Linked DNA regions of Homo sapiens: region 2 is linked to region 1. Evidence: promoter capture Hi-C in 16 types of primary human blood cells and fetal thymus (Javierre and others, 2016). All regions are on one chromosome and are shown on one strand. Each heading gives the region's core, a stretch centred on a gene start or on the middle of the fragment in contact. The rest is flanking DNA. Distances are from core to core; before and after follow the strand shown.

Evidence for each region. The method cuts DNA at HindIII sites, captures the fragments that hold promoters and counts their contacts. A CHiCAGO score of 5 or more calls a contact.
Region 2: a fragment that was not itself captured here is called in contact with the fragment with the promoter of RNF2 in region 1 in 3 of 17 cell types (total B cells, naive CD8 T cells and non-activated CD4 T cells); the score reaches 6.0 in total B cells.

Annotation. Positions count from the first base shown.
Region 1 is chr1:185,042,145-185,047,803 of GRCh38, reverse strand. RNF2 (ring finger protein 2) reads right to left here and starts at 2,246. Exons shown (of 7, transcript NM_007212.4): 1 at 2,155-2,246. RefSeq lists a silencer at 2,357-2,616. The HindIII fragment of the contact is 4,610 bases long and covers 1-3,582 here.
Region 2 is chr1:186,379,954-186,386,426 of GRCh38, reverse strand. It overlaps ODR4 (odr-4 GPCR localization factor homolog), which reads right to left. Exons shown (of 14, transcript NM_017847.6): 3 at 3,271-3,405; 4 at 344-439. Among named protein-coding and RNA genes, the nearest start is that of ODR4, 7.4 kb to the right of the region's middle. The HindIII fragment of the contact is 1,244 bases long and covers 3,429-4,672 here.

The DNA of each region.
Region 1 (5,659 bases), core at 997-3,496:
AGAGTACATAATCTCTTATTTTTCTTTTAAAAGCTGCAAACTGTGATGGATTTTTAGTTTATCCAGAATTTAATGAGTCATTTCAAAATTATGAAGCGCTTTAAGTCATACTAGAAACACTGCCATAATTTTAATAAAGTGCGTTTTAATATTAACTCATTTCTCTTGCTGGAAGAAATTATGCTTCTTTGCTAATGTATAGAAATGAAACTGTCACTGAAACATCTGGTTATATATTATTCATTAGGCATATATATCACCTTTACTCCAAAGTCTGCATAATATAAACACAAATCATGAATAAATCAGATTAGAGACACAGACGTGACACCACAAACTGTAGGTCACTAATAAAATTCCAAACATGTTTGCTGACCTGGTCTATATTTCTATCCATTCAAACCTGGGAGCTTCACACAGGCAGAGAAAAACTCCAAATTCCCAGTATTTTGAAAGTCTGCATGGTCTACATTATGTTAGTGATTGTAACTGGAAATTTTTCTATGCAACACACTTTAGGACAACTAGCTTATTTTTCAAATACTCAAACGGATTGGCCTGACTCGGGCAATTTTTCTTCGTAAATCTGCCTCTACTATAATTAACCTCAAATGTGGATGCCACAAGGATACCTGAGGAAAATAACTACAATCCTTACAAAAAGTGAGGGACCATATTTGCTGTGCTACCCCTAGAAAAAGGAGTCACCTATAACTACCTATTATTTTGCTAAAAAGTAGTTTAAGAGTACAATCAAGATTTTTAAAGATACTTGTTGATTGTGAAAAGTAGAAATTTCAGGGGAAAAAGGGAATAACCAAGAGTCATATTGCTGCTATTTAAATACTTTATAAATCCAAGGATCAAATTTCACTATAAGAAGCAAACTCTCACACCCACCTCAGTTATTAGAATATTCAACAACTGCACTTAATACAAAACAGATAGATTAGCTACCAATTAGACTAAGTATTCCAGCTGATCATCTTGGAATTACCAAAAGTAGATTATGTAATGCAAATCGCTCGTACATTCGTTTTAAACATATCCTCGGTTTAGAACACTGAAACCATGCCTTAATTTTTTTAATTGAAAAACAGCGTATTACTAAAATACTGAGTGCATATGTATATCCTTTTCACGGCACTTCAAAGAAACCTGACATCTTCAAATCATTTTACAATGTAAAGTTACATTCTCTAAAACTTCCGACAGCCTCGAAAAAGATACCCAAAGGGGCTTCAAATAGATGAGTCTATAATTGATCTTAGCGGGCAAATAACTGGAATGAACCTCAAAGTTTGAGATCAATTTTTACTAACACCATCTCTGAAAGCAAGAAGGAGACTTCTGTAGAAGGTAAACGATTCTGACCAGCAGGACGTGGGCTCCCGGCAAAAGTGGGTACTAGCATCTCAGCGTAAACGACACGGTTCAAAACGCGAATCTTCCCGCAGAAACTAACCAAGACACCCCCTCCCCCCACGACTCCTCCTGGGTAAGCTCACGGTTTTAGAAAGCAGCAACAGATACTCCAGAGCAGGAGGCGGCACTCCAGGAATGTGTGAAGCTGAAGGGGTCTCCCCGAGGAACCCCGAGGTCGAGGAGCTCCTCTACACTGGAACCCCGACTCCGACCCCCCAGAAGGAAGGAGCGATATCTGCACAAAGTGCCCCCTACCCCACCCCCACGATGCAGACACACATCCCTAGCTGCGAGGCGAAAGCCCAGAGAAAAAACTCGCATTCCACTCCGTCCGCCTCCGGAGTAGGGCTGCAGAGAGGCTGGGGCCCCCGCCCCCGGAGGCGAGGGGACCGCGCCGCAGCGCCGGCCTCCGCGCAGAGGAAAGGGCAGCGAAAGGCTCGCGGCGAAGGAAGGAATCCCGGCGCTTCGCTGACTGGGTCCTCCGCAAACCAGCTCCCTTCCCTCCCACGACCCTCGAAGACACGGGAACAATGAGAACCCGCTTCACCCGCCGTCTCCGCCGCGAGAGCGGCCGGGGGCGGCGGCGGCGCCATGTCCCTTCACACCCCCGCGGACACACACCCCCCCCACACTCCGGGGCCCCCGTCAGTCGCCTGCAACGCTGCCGAGTAGACGCGTGTCCCGGCCCGCTGCTTCCGCGTCCTTCGCCTCCCCGCCCGCCCCACTCACCGGCTCCTGCCCCAGCCCAGGGCTCCGCTGGCCGCGGCCGGAGCAAGACTCTGGTATCAGCTGCCGCGGACGCCGGCGCCGCCGCACAATATGGCGAGCCTCAGCTTCCGCAATGGAGCTCGGGAAATACAACAGGGGCCGCTCAATATTCATGAGAGACTGAGGGGAAGCCGGCTCGGCCGGCGCTGCGGGGAGGGCGGGAAGGAGCGAGCGAGCGAGGGGCGGAGGCGCGGGACGAGGACGTGCACGGCGCGGGGAGGCCCGCGGCGCGAGGGAGGGTGCGCCGCCGCGTGTTGGCCTGGAGAACCCGCGCCACCGCCCCGCCCTGGGCTGGCCGGCCACGCCCCCCCGGCGCCCACCGCGGTCCGACGTAGCCCCCGGGCAACGCCCGGATGACGGCGCAGCCACCTCGTGCTCAACCTTCTGCTTGGGTTCTTCTGCCCTGGCTTCGGCCCACCCTTTACACCTTCCTGGCCGGCTTCTGGGGTTTGGGCTCAGACTTCTTTCTCATGAGTTCGTCCTCTTAAACCTGTCCCACCCGGCGGAAATCCTCATCAGGCTTTGGTTTGCAGAACTTCACATGAACTTCGGCACCCTTCCGCTCTCGTACAACAAACATACACTTTTCATCCTTGCAGGATAAAACTGCAAGTGTAATTGCTCCTGGGAAAATGACCTTCCACTCTAAACTTAGCTTAACATTCTGATTGTGGTCATCAGCTCTTACTATTTACCTTGCTGCTGCTTTATTCCTACCTCCTTGGCCCCTTCCAGTGTTACCTTCTGAACTTGAGGATTTACGAAGTAATAGATTAATAGATGTAATCATTACCTAAAACACAGCCAGTTAGTCTCCAGTAAATTATCCGACATTTAATGCATATAAATTATGAGCTGAAGAAGTAACGAAGAATTGAAAGTTCCCTGATCTCTATATGTACTATTGTTGAGATGTCATGTTCTCTTGAGAAGATAACCAGCAATACCAGACCGTAAATCTGAAGGCATAGAGGCATAAACCAATGGACTGCAGTGGGAATTGGGCAAACTAGGTTCATAGCCTCCAATGTGTGTCTATGTGACTTACGTAGATTGCGTAGCTCCTCTGCACTTCATTTTCTTCGTCTGCGAGATGAGAGAATTGTATTGAATCCTAGGTCCTTTCCAGTTCTTTAACGCTCTGAAACTCTCTATAAGCAATTCCAAATAAATGACATGAATTTACATAGGAATTTGGAAAAGAAAAATATCAATTCCAGCTGGTGTGTTTGGGGATGATTTCCTGAGGAGCCGGGATTTAAGATGGCCTTTGACGCCTTGGATGGGTGGAAAGAAAAAGGACAGGTGTTAAATACAGCACATTATATATGCTACCTAACAATCCATCAAAGAAAACAAGCATTATTCTTTTTCAGTGGCTTGAAAGCTTTTGCCTACTATCTATAACTTTAAATAACAAGTGACAGTTATCTGACTCTACAAGCCCTTCAAGGTTAAACTCTTCCTCCAATGTGGGGGGAGAAAAAAAGGCTGGGTGTGGTAGCTCACGCCTGTAATCTCAGCACTTTGGGAGCCCAAGGCCACCGGATCACTTGAGATCAGGAGTTCGAGATCAGCCTGGCCAATATGGTGAAACTGTCTTTACTAAAAATACAAAAAAAAGTTAGCCAGGTGTCGTGGCACGCGCCTGCAGTCCCAGCTACTCGGGAGGCTGAGGCAGGAGAATCGCTTGAACCTGGGAAGCAGAGGTTGCAGTGAGCCGAGATCGCGCCATGACACTCCAGCCTGGGTGTCTCGGCGAGACTGCGTCTCAAAACAAAACAAAACAACAACAACAACAAAATCAAAATAATCAGGGAAGCTCTGCTTCTCCCTTCTTGTGAAAGTCCACTTTCTAGAAACAGTGCAGTTGCAGAAGCATCTCCCTTCTTCCTTCATGACGAGTGCATGTGTAGTTCAATTAAAGGAAGACAGGTGTTCATAATTTAGAACTTTTGCTCTAATTAAAATGCCTTTGAAAATCATGATGTGTGGTTAGATTAAGCAATTCAATTGATGTTGAGAAAAGTGATGATTTGTAGAAAGCGCAGGAACTTTATGGATGAAAGTTAAATATAGTGCTTAAAAAAGACTCACAGGAGAATTAGTGGAAAAACGGAAAACTTATGGGATATCTGGATTAAATGTGATTAAAAAGCTAGACCTCAGGCTAACATCCTTAATATGAAAAACACTACTGACAAATTAATGGAACTCATTTTATCTATTTTATCTCTTACTCAGAAACTTGGCACTGGATCTTCTCTGACTATATTAATCAGGAAAGGTTATGTTATGGTATAGTAACAAACATCTCCAAAATCTACATGCCTTAACACAACAAAAGTTATTGTTTGGTTATGCTTCATGCTTCATGTGGATCCAACTCACTCTGTTCTGGTCACTCCAGGAACCAGATTGATAGAGACACCACCATCTTGTAGCTGTACCACCCTGGAACACAGAAACTTATTCTCTGCAGCAGAGGAAGAAAATGGCTAAAGAATCCCCGTGAATTTTTCGTAGCCTTAGCTTGGAAAAGAGAGCACTGATCACATTTCATTGCCCAGAACTGGTTGTACAGCCCCACACATCTGCAAAGGGACTGAGTCCTTGAACTGAGTTCAGAAAGAGAAGTGGGGACATTGGTGAACAATGCTAACGTCAGCCACCCTGACCTCACCACTAGGTTCCTAGATGCCATGGGAAAATTCTAAGAGGTTTTATTCTGTAACACTGGTTCTCTTGAGTGACCCCAAGAAAGTTATGCGTTCAAAAGTAAACTCTCTTACTTATTAAGAGTTGACTGCCATGTAAATAGAGTGGACTTTCCATTTTCTTCCCTGTTGTTTTAATCGTATATTATATCGATGTAAACTCCATAGTAAATATATCAGTAGTGATTCACATATCCAGACCACATTATTTTTGCTAATGTTTTGACCTGACATAACAGATATCGTTCTAAAAAACATTTTCTAGTAACACTCTATCTGCATGTTAAATGTGCTAATTGGAAGTGATATTTGTATTTTAAGTAGAGGAACATTAAATTAACACTACATAATAGAAGTATATTATGGGTGATGACTAGATGAATTCTAGTTAAAAAAAAATTGTCTTCCTTTAACACTTCAGAAGTAGTATCAGGTTAACTACATGATGAATTGGGTAGGTATCTCTAAGTGATCATAAAAATCACCTCTTGGCTGGGCATGGCGGCCCAGGCCTGTTATCCCAGCACTTTGGGAGGCCGAGGCCGGTGGATCACCTGAGGTCAGGAGTTTGAGACCAGCCTGGCTAACATGGCAAAACTCCGTCTCTACTAAAAATACAAAAATTAGCCGGGTGTAGTGGCAGGCGCCTGTAATCCCAGCTACTCGGAAGGCTGAGGCAGGAAAATTGCTTGAACCTGGGAGGCTGAGGTTGCAGTGAGCTGAGATCATGCCACTGCACTCCAGCCTGG
Region 2 (6,473 bases), core at 2,801-5,300, 1.3 Mb before region 1:
AAATAATTTAACTTTTTAACTTGAGGAAAGAATAGCTTTTTCAAATTTGTATGAAATGCCATATGGGCTGATGATAGCCCTGTTTTGGGTAGTGTACTAAATAAAGAATAAAATTACCCATGGAAAAAATAATAAATAAAATGTGTAGTTTTTAAAAATATAAACATTTTTTACACTCAAGATATCCAAGCAATTGAGTGACAAAAGCTTTTTCAATGTAACCCCAACAAAAAGAATTATGGAAAACAAATGTAAATATGCCTAGAATCATTACACATACTCATAATCAGTAAAAATAACATATAACTGATTTCATTAAGAATTTTCGATATATCAAACTTACTCTACGCAGGGCATTTTGAAAATCATTTGCCAGTTCTAAAGTAGTAATAATAAATACTCCAAGAACTAAAAGTCCCCCTGGTAGCATTCTGGATACCTAAAAATAGAAATATATTATTAGCTAACAAATTGGCATTATATGCAATCCTTTCTGTTTGAGAAACTGTCTGCTTAGCATGTCCTTAGCTTTTCACCTTAAAACTACTTTATAAATAAAACTATCTGATAACAACATCCTTTAGCTACATCAATAAATAAATCCTTTTCTCAGGAGATCAAAGACTGAAATATTTTTTCAATGGCGTCCCACCATCAGCTAAATAAAATGAAGTTTTATTTTAGATTGATATTTCAGACTTTCTAGGATCTGGTCAATGATGTTTATACCCTCATTTGACACTACTTTTCCTCAAGTAATTCAAATATTTGTCAAAAACTACTTGAAAAGTAGTGTCAAATGAGGCTATAAACTGTTTTCCATACACATCCTAGGCTTTCTAACTATGTGTCTTTACTCAGGGTGTTCCCTAGGCCGAAACTGACTTTTTCTTATACTTCTGCATGTCTCAACCCTACTGGATACTTCAAAGGCAGCTTGAGGAAGCTGCCTTCTCTGATCTTTTCATCTCTGAACTCCGACAGGGCTTTGGTGTAGTTTTCCCATGGATTTTATCACATAGTCTTATATCATAGTTATCTGTGAACCCTACTAGTTGGTCAGGGAGCTCCTTAAGGGAATAAGTAATTCTACCTCTGTATCCCTATTTTTAGCAGCATACTAGATCTGGAATTTGAACAGAGGGAGTCTGACTTGAAAATCCATTATTTTCTATTGCATAGATTAACCTCAAATTTTTAAGCCCACTTACTGATACTGGGCATCTTTGCTATATCTAATTTTACCTTAAAATAATATTGATTAAAAATCCTAGTACATCTTTCTGCATTCATAGAATTATTTGTTTAGGACAAATCCCTTGAGGTGGATAACTGGTTTAAGAAGTTATACATATTTTTAAGGTTTTTGATACATACTACCATGATATCTCCATATCTGTATTTCCCTTCACATGATTGTGGCTAGTTCTTAATACCACATGGATTTTTTTCTATCATCTACACTCAGAGATTAGAGTGTTTTGGTTAGCTTTTGATTACTTAATGTACAAGCAATCAATCAGAGTACAGTCTTAGAAAATTAGGTACCATGCTCTAATCCTTAATCTACTTGCACTATGTCTTTCGGTGTTTTCCTCTGATTTAATAAATTCTATTTACTATAGTAGCACAATTCTGACAAATAAAGTTTTCATATTTAGCATAAGGAGCCTGCATATCTTTTCAAAATCACCAACACAAAAAAGTAACCATTTTTTAGGAGATGGAGGTGAGAGCAAGAAAGGGGAAAAAGTAAAATTAACCTTTTCTTTCTAGAGGTAAAAGGTTAAGCTAATTTACTATATAAATTCATTAATATTCTGTGTGTGTGTGTGTGTGTGTGTGTGTGTGTGTCATATACAATTTTATGAGAGACCAAAAGCAAAATTAGAGTAGAAAGTTATTTACAAACCATTGGGAATTTAACTTTACATTACTTAATATTTTCTTTAGAAGATAGTTGCCATGTTTGTCCCCTTAAACACCATGTTGAAATGTGAACCCAAGTGGGGCCTAATGGAAGGTGTTTGGGTCATGGGGCAGATCCCTCATTAATGGCTTGGTTCCATCCTCAGAGCAGTGAATGAGTTCTCGCTATATTTGTTCCTACGAGAGCTGGTTGTTAAAAAAAAAAGCCTAGCACCTCCCAACCCCTTGCTTCCTCTCTGGCCCAGTGATCTTTACACACCAGCTCCAATCTGCCTTCTGACATGAACAGAAGCAGCCTGAGGCTTTGACCAGATGCTCAATCTTGCAGCCAGCAGAATCATGAGCCAAACAGGCCTTTTTTTCTTTATAAATTACTCAGTCTTAGGTATTCCTTAATAGCCACCCAAACAGACTAAAACAATAATAATTAAATACTGGATTTCTTCGTTTTGTTTTGTTGAGACAGAGTCTCGCTTTGTCGCCCAGTCTGGAGTGCAATGGTGTGATCTTGGCTCATTGCAACCTCCGCCTCCCAGGTTCAAGCAATTCTCCTGCCTCAGCCTCCCAAGTAGCTGGGATTACAGGCACCTGCCACCACACCTGGCTAGTTTTTCATATTTTTACTAGAGACGGGGTTTCACCATGTTGGCCAGGCTGGTCTTGAACTCCTGACCTCAGGTGATCCACCCACCTTGGCCTCCCAAAGTGCTGGGATTACAGGCAAGATTTTATTTTTTTTTTAAATATAACTACACACTGCTCCATAATCAAACACATACACAGACACAAATATATGTCCATATATATATATATATATATCTACATACACAGAAACACGTTTGAGTTTAAAAGATTTAAAGATTTAAAGTTGATTGGAAAAGGAAATAAATCTTTTATTTATTAAAGAAAATTCTTTTTCTTAAAACAAACAAACAAAAACGCAGAATGTGCAAGTCTGTCACATAGGTTTACGTGTGCCATGGTGGCTTGCTGCACCTATTGACCTGTCCTCTAAGTTCCCTCCCCTCACCCCCAACCCCAGAAAAGGAAATAATTCTATTTTTACCTTATTCTAACATTATTTATTTGATGATATATAATTCATTCAATAAATACTTGTAAGTGAATTAATTTAGTCATTATTCCCACTCACCCATCCCAAATCTGTTTCTTCCTCGTGTAATGCCAACAGTATCCTCCTAGACACCCAGACTAAAAATCTCAGTCATCTTTAGCTACTTTCTCCCTATGTCTCTTCTCTCTACTCATTCACTAAATCTTCTTGATTCTAGCTCTTTTTTGAAATAAAACTTAAACATATAAACAAAAAAATAAGATAACCTGGCAGGCATGTTCTGTGGCCCATTCTTCATCCAAGTTATCCAACTTAGCTTTGGGATGTTTGAGGTTCTCACTTTGCTCCTCTTTGGGTGGCGTTCTAGTGGCAAGAATCACATAATCCTTTTGTGACGAACACTTCAACAACAAATTAAAAAGCTTGTTAGAGTGATATCTGATTCCTCAATCTAATTAGAGTGATACCTAAATTCCTTAGCTTTTATGACATGCAAAAACTGAGTAATATTTGTAACAGGTTAAATCATTAATACCCACATTATAATGGAAGCTAAAGGGAAGCTAATTTTCAAGGATGGCCTTACAATCTTTCCCTCACATGTTGTTTATCTTTTAATGTATTTAATATCAGCTTCTTATTTATTTGGACAACTCAAATGTAAATCATGGAGTGGTCCCTAAAAATGGTTTACTGGATGAGTGAATGAATTACATTAACTAAAAAGTAATATGCTTATTCAGTTTTCTAGTTATATTTGTTTTATAAGTTATAAATGAACAGATCGGAAAATATTAGTAAAATGAAACAACAAGTGACCTTTTGTATCTTATTTTAATTGAAATGATGACAGTAGGGAACTTCCACATACATTTCCACAGAATAACAAAGGGGATTTGGGACACAATTTAAAGTGATACAGATTCTATGTTCCTCAAGTTTTTTGTTTTGTTTTGTTTTTTGTTCTTTGTGTGTGTGTGTATTTATTTATTTATTTAGAGACAGGGTCTTGCTCTAATGCCCAGGCTGGAGTGCAGTGGTGTGATCATAGCTCACTGCAACCTTGCACTCCTGGGCTCAAGCAATCCTCCCCCCAAGTAGTCTCCCAAGTAGCTAGGACTACAGGCTCAAACAATCAGCCATAATGCCTGGCTTTTTTTTTTTTTTTTTTTTACTTTTTTGTAGAGACAGAGTCTTGCTATGTTGCCCAGGCTAGGTCAAACTCTGACCTTCAAGCAATCCTCCCACCTCGGCCTCCCAAAGCATTGGGATTACAGGCATGAGCCACCACACCCAATCTGTTCTTCAGCTGTAATATCAGTTAAGTAGTAACCAAAGTTGGGAGATCTAAAAATAAATGTAGGGGAACATTCAATAGCTCAGTTTCACTACAGTGAAAGTTTCCTATAAAAAAAGAGTGAAAATAACACTGCTAATGCAAGTTAGCATTGTATCTTCCCCACACATGACCTGAAACTCTGATCATTAGTATCATCTTGGGATAGAAAATAAGAGTAACTATTCCTACAGGTTATTTTCAGGAAGTTACATTCAAATAAACACAGGAAAAGAAAGTAGGTCTCAGTTAAGAAGGCTCCTCTTTTCTTCATAAAATGTATAACTTTGAAAAGAAAAAGAAACTGACAGAGACCAGGAAACAGGCAAGCTTAAGAGGAAGGAGAGGAAAAAGTAATGAACTCTGGAAGAAAAAGCACGTAGAATACTGAAAGGAATGAATTGCTCTGTCCGTGAGCAATACATACTACAGCATAAAAAGAGATAGAAGGAAGGCCTTAGGCCGGGCGCGGTGGCTCACGCCTGTAATCCCAGCACTTTGGGAGGCCGAGGCAGGCGGATCACGAGATCAGGAGATCGAGACCATCCTGGCTAACACGGTGAAACCCCGTCTCTACTAAAAATACAAAAAATTAGCCGGGCGAGGTGGCGGGCGCCTGTAGTCCCAGCTACTCGGGAGGCTGAGGCAGGAGAATGGCGTGAACCCCAGGGGGCGGAGCCTGCAGTGAGCCGAGATTGCGCCACTGCACTCCAGCCTGGGCGACAGCGAGACTCCGTCTCAAAAAAAAAAAAAAGAAGGAAGGCCTTAAATTATGAGACACTCATTTGTAAGATGGCAGTTTGCCTGAGCTTTAGAAACAACCTTTATCCAGTTAAGACAAATTTAGAAGAGGGTCTTTCTCCCTGACTTTTTATCTCTACTGATCACATCTTTCTCTAAGACTCTTCTTCTCTTAAATGTTTTAAACAAAGAGAAAGAAAAAAACTTAAATAGAAAACTCCTAACAAAAAGAGCCCCACATTACAACTGAATTAAAAAGAAATTCACACTGTTCTCAAGAGAGGCAGTCTGGCTGTCTAATGAGAGGCCTCACAGAGTGGTGCTACCTGGTTGAACCATGTAGATCTGCCCTCTGTCTTGCAAATTAAGAAATCTGATTTGTAAAAATTCTGAAAATGAGCCTGTCTTTCATGGCTAGACTGACATTGATTAAGTTTATTCAGAATGATGTAGAAAACTAAAATGTCATGAAGGCATCTGAACACTTGAGTCCTCTGGACAGTGTATTCTTTATAAGTAGATAACATGGGGCATCAAATTATAAAAGAAAGTAGCTTGGGAATATGGGTAGAATCAGAATAAGGAAAGTTAATTATGTAATTTGAAGATTCTAAGGCATCAGGCTAAGATATCTAGAAAGAAAATTGTCCCAATAAGAGCTTTATTGGCTAGTAGGCCTCAAAATCAAGTCCTTGGGCCAAAGTGCACTCTCCTGTGTTTGGATGGACACAGTCAGCTTGCCTGTGTGACTCTCCTTTTTTTTTTTTTTTGGCTTTGTACTGCTGACCGGTCCCTCCTGCCGATTAACACGTTCTTCCTTCACTCATAAGAAATCAGTGGCATGGGTTTTAAAATAAGTATCTGAATCTCTGTTCCATTTTGTGTTTTTAAGACTCAGCTCTAAGAGGAAATTAGAATTTGTCTAATTTCCAAATTTTTCCCAATCCCTCTCCCTCCCTATTGATCCAACAACAACAACAAAAAATTCAGTAAGATGGGTACTATAGCTTACAACAAAAATATGACCACTGTTGCCATAAGTCTGATATAAGACAACACAAATTAGAACAGGAATAAAATTTTCAAAAGCTTCTTTTGTAAAGAACTGGACAACCAGATATTAAAAAGATTAGAAGGGAATACAAAACACTTTGGAAAGACAACAAAATGTGAAAAATCTGGTCAATAAACATTCTAATTCTGAAGTTTCCATATTATAAATTACGTTTACATGGTCAAAGGGGAAGGTGTCCTGACGAGCAAAATTGGGCTAGGTTTGTCTACTTCTCCATGTTTCCTCAAAGACCTACTTTAAAGTTACTTCTTCCACATTTCTTCTTCCATCCCCCAATCTTGAGTTTATTATTAAATAGCATCTTTTAACTTTAAATC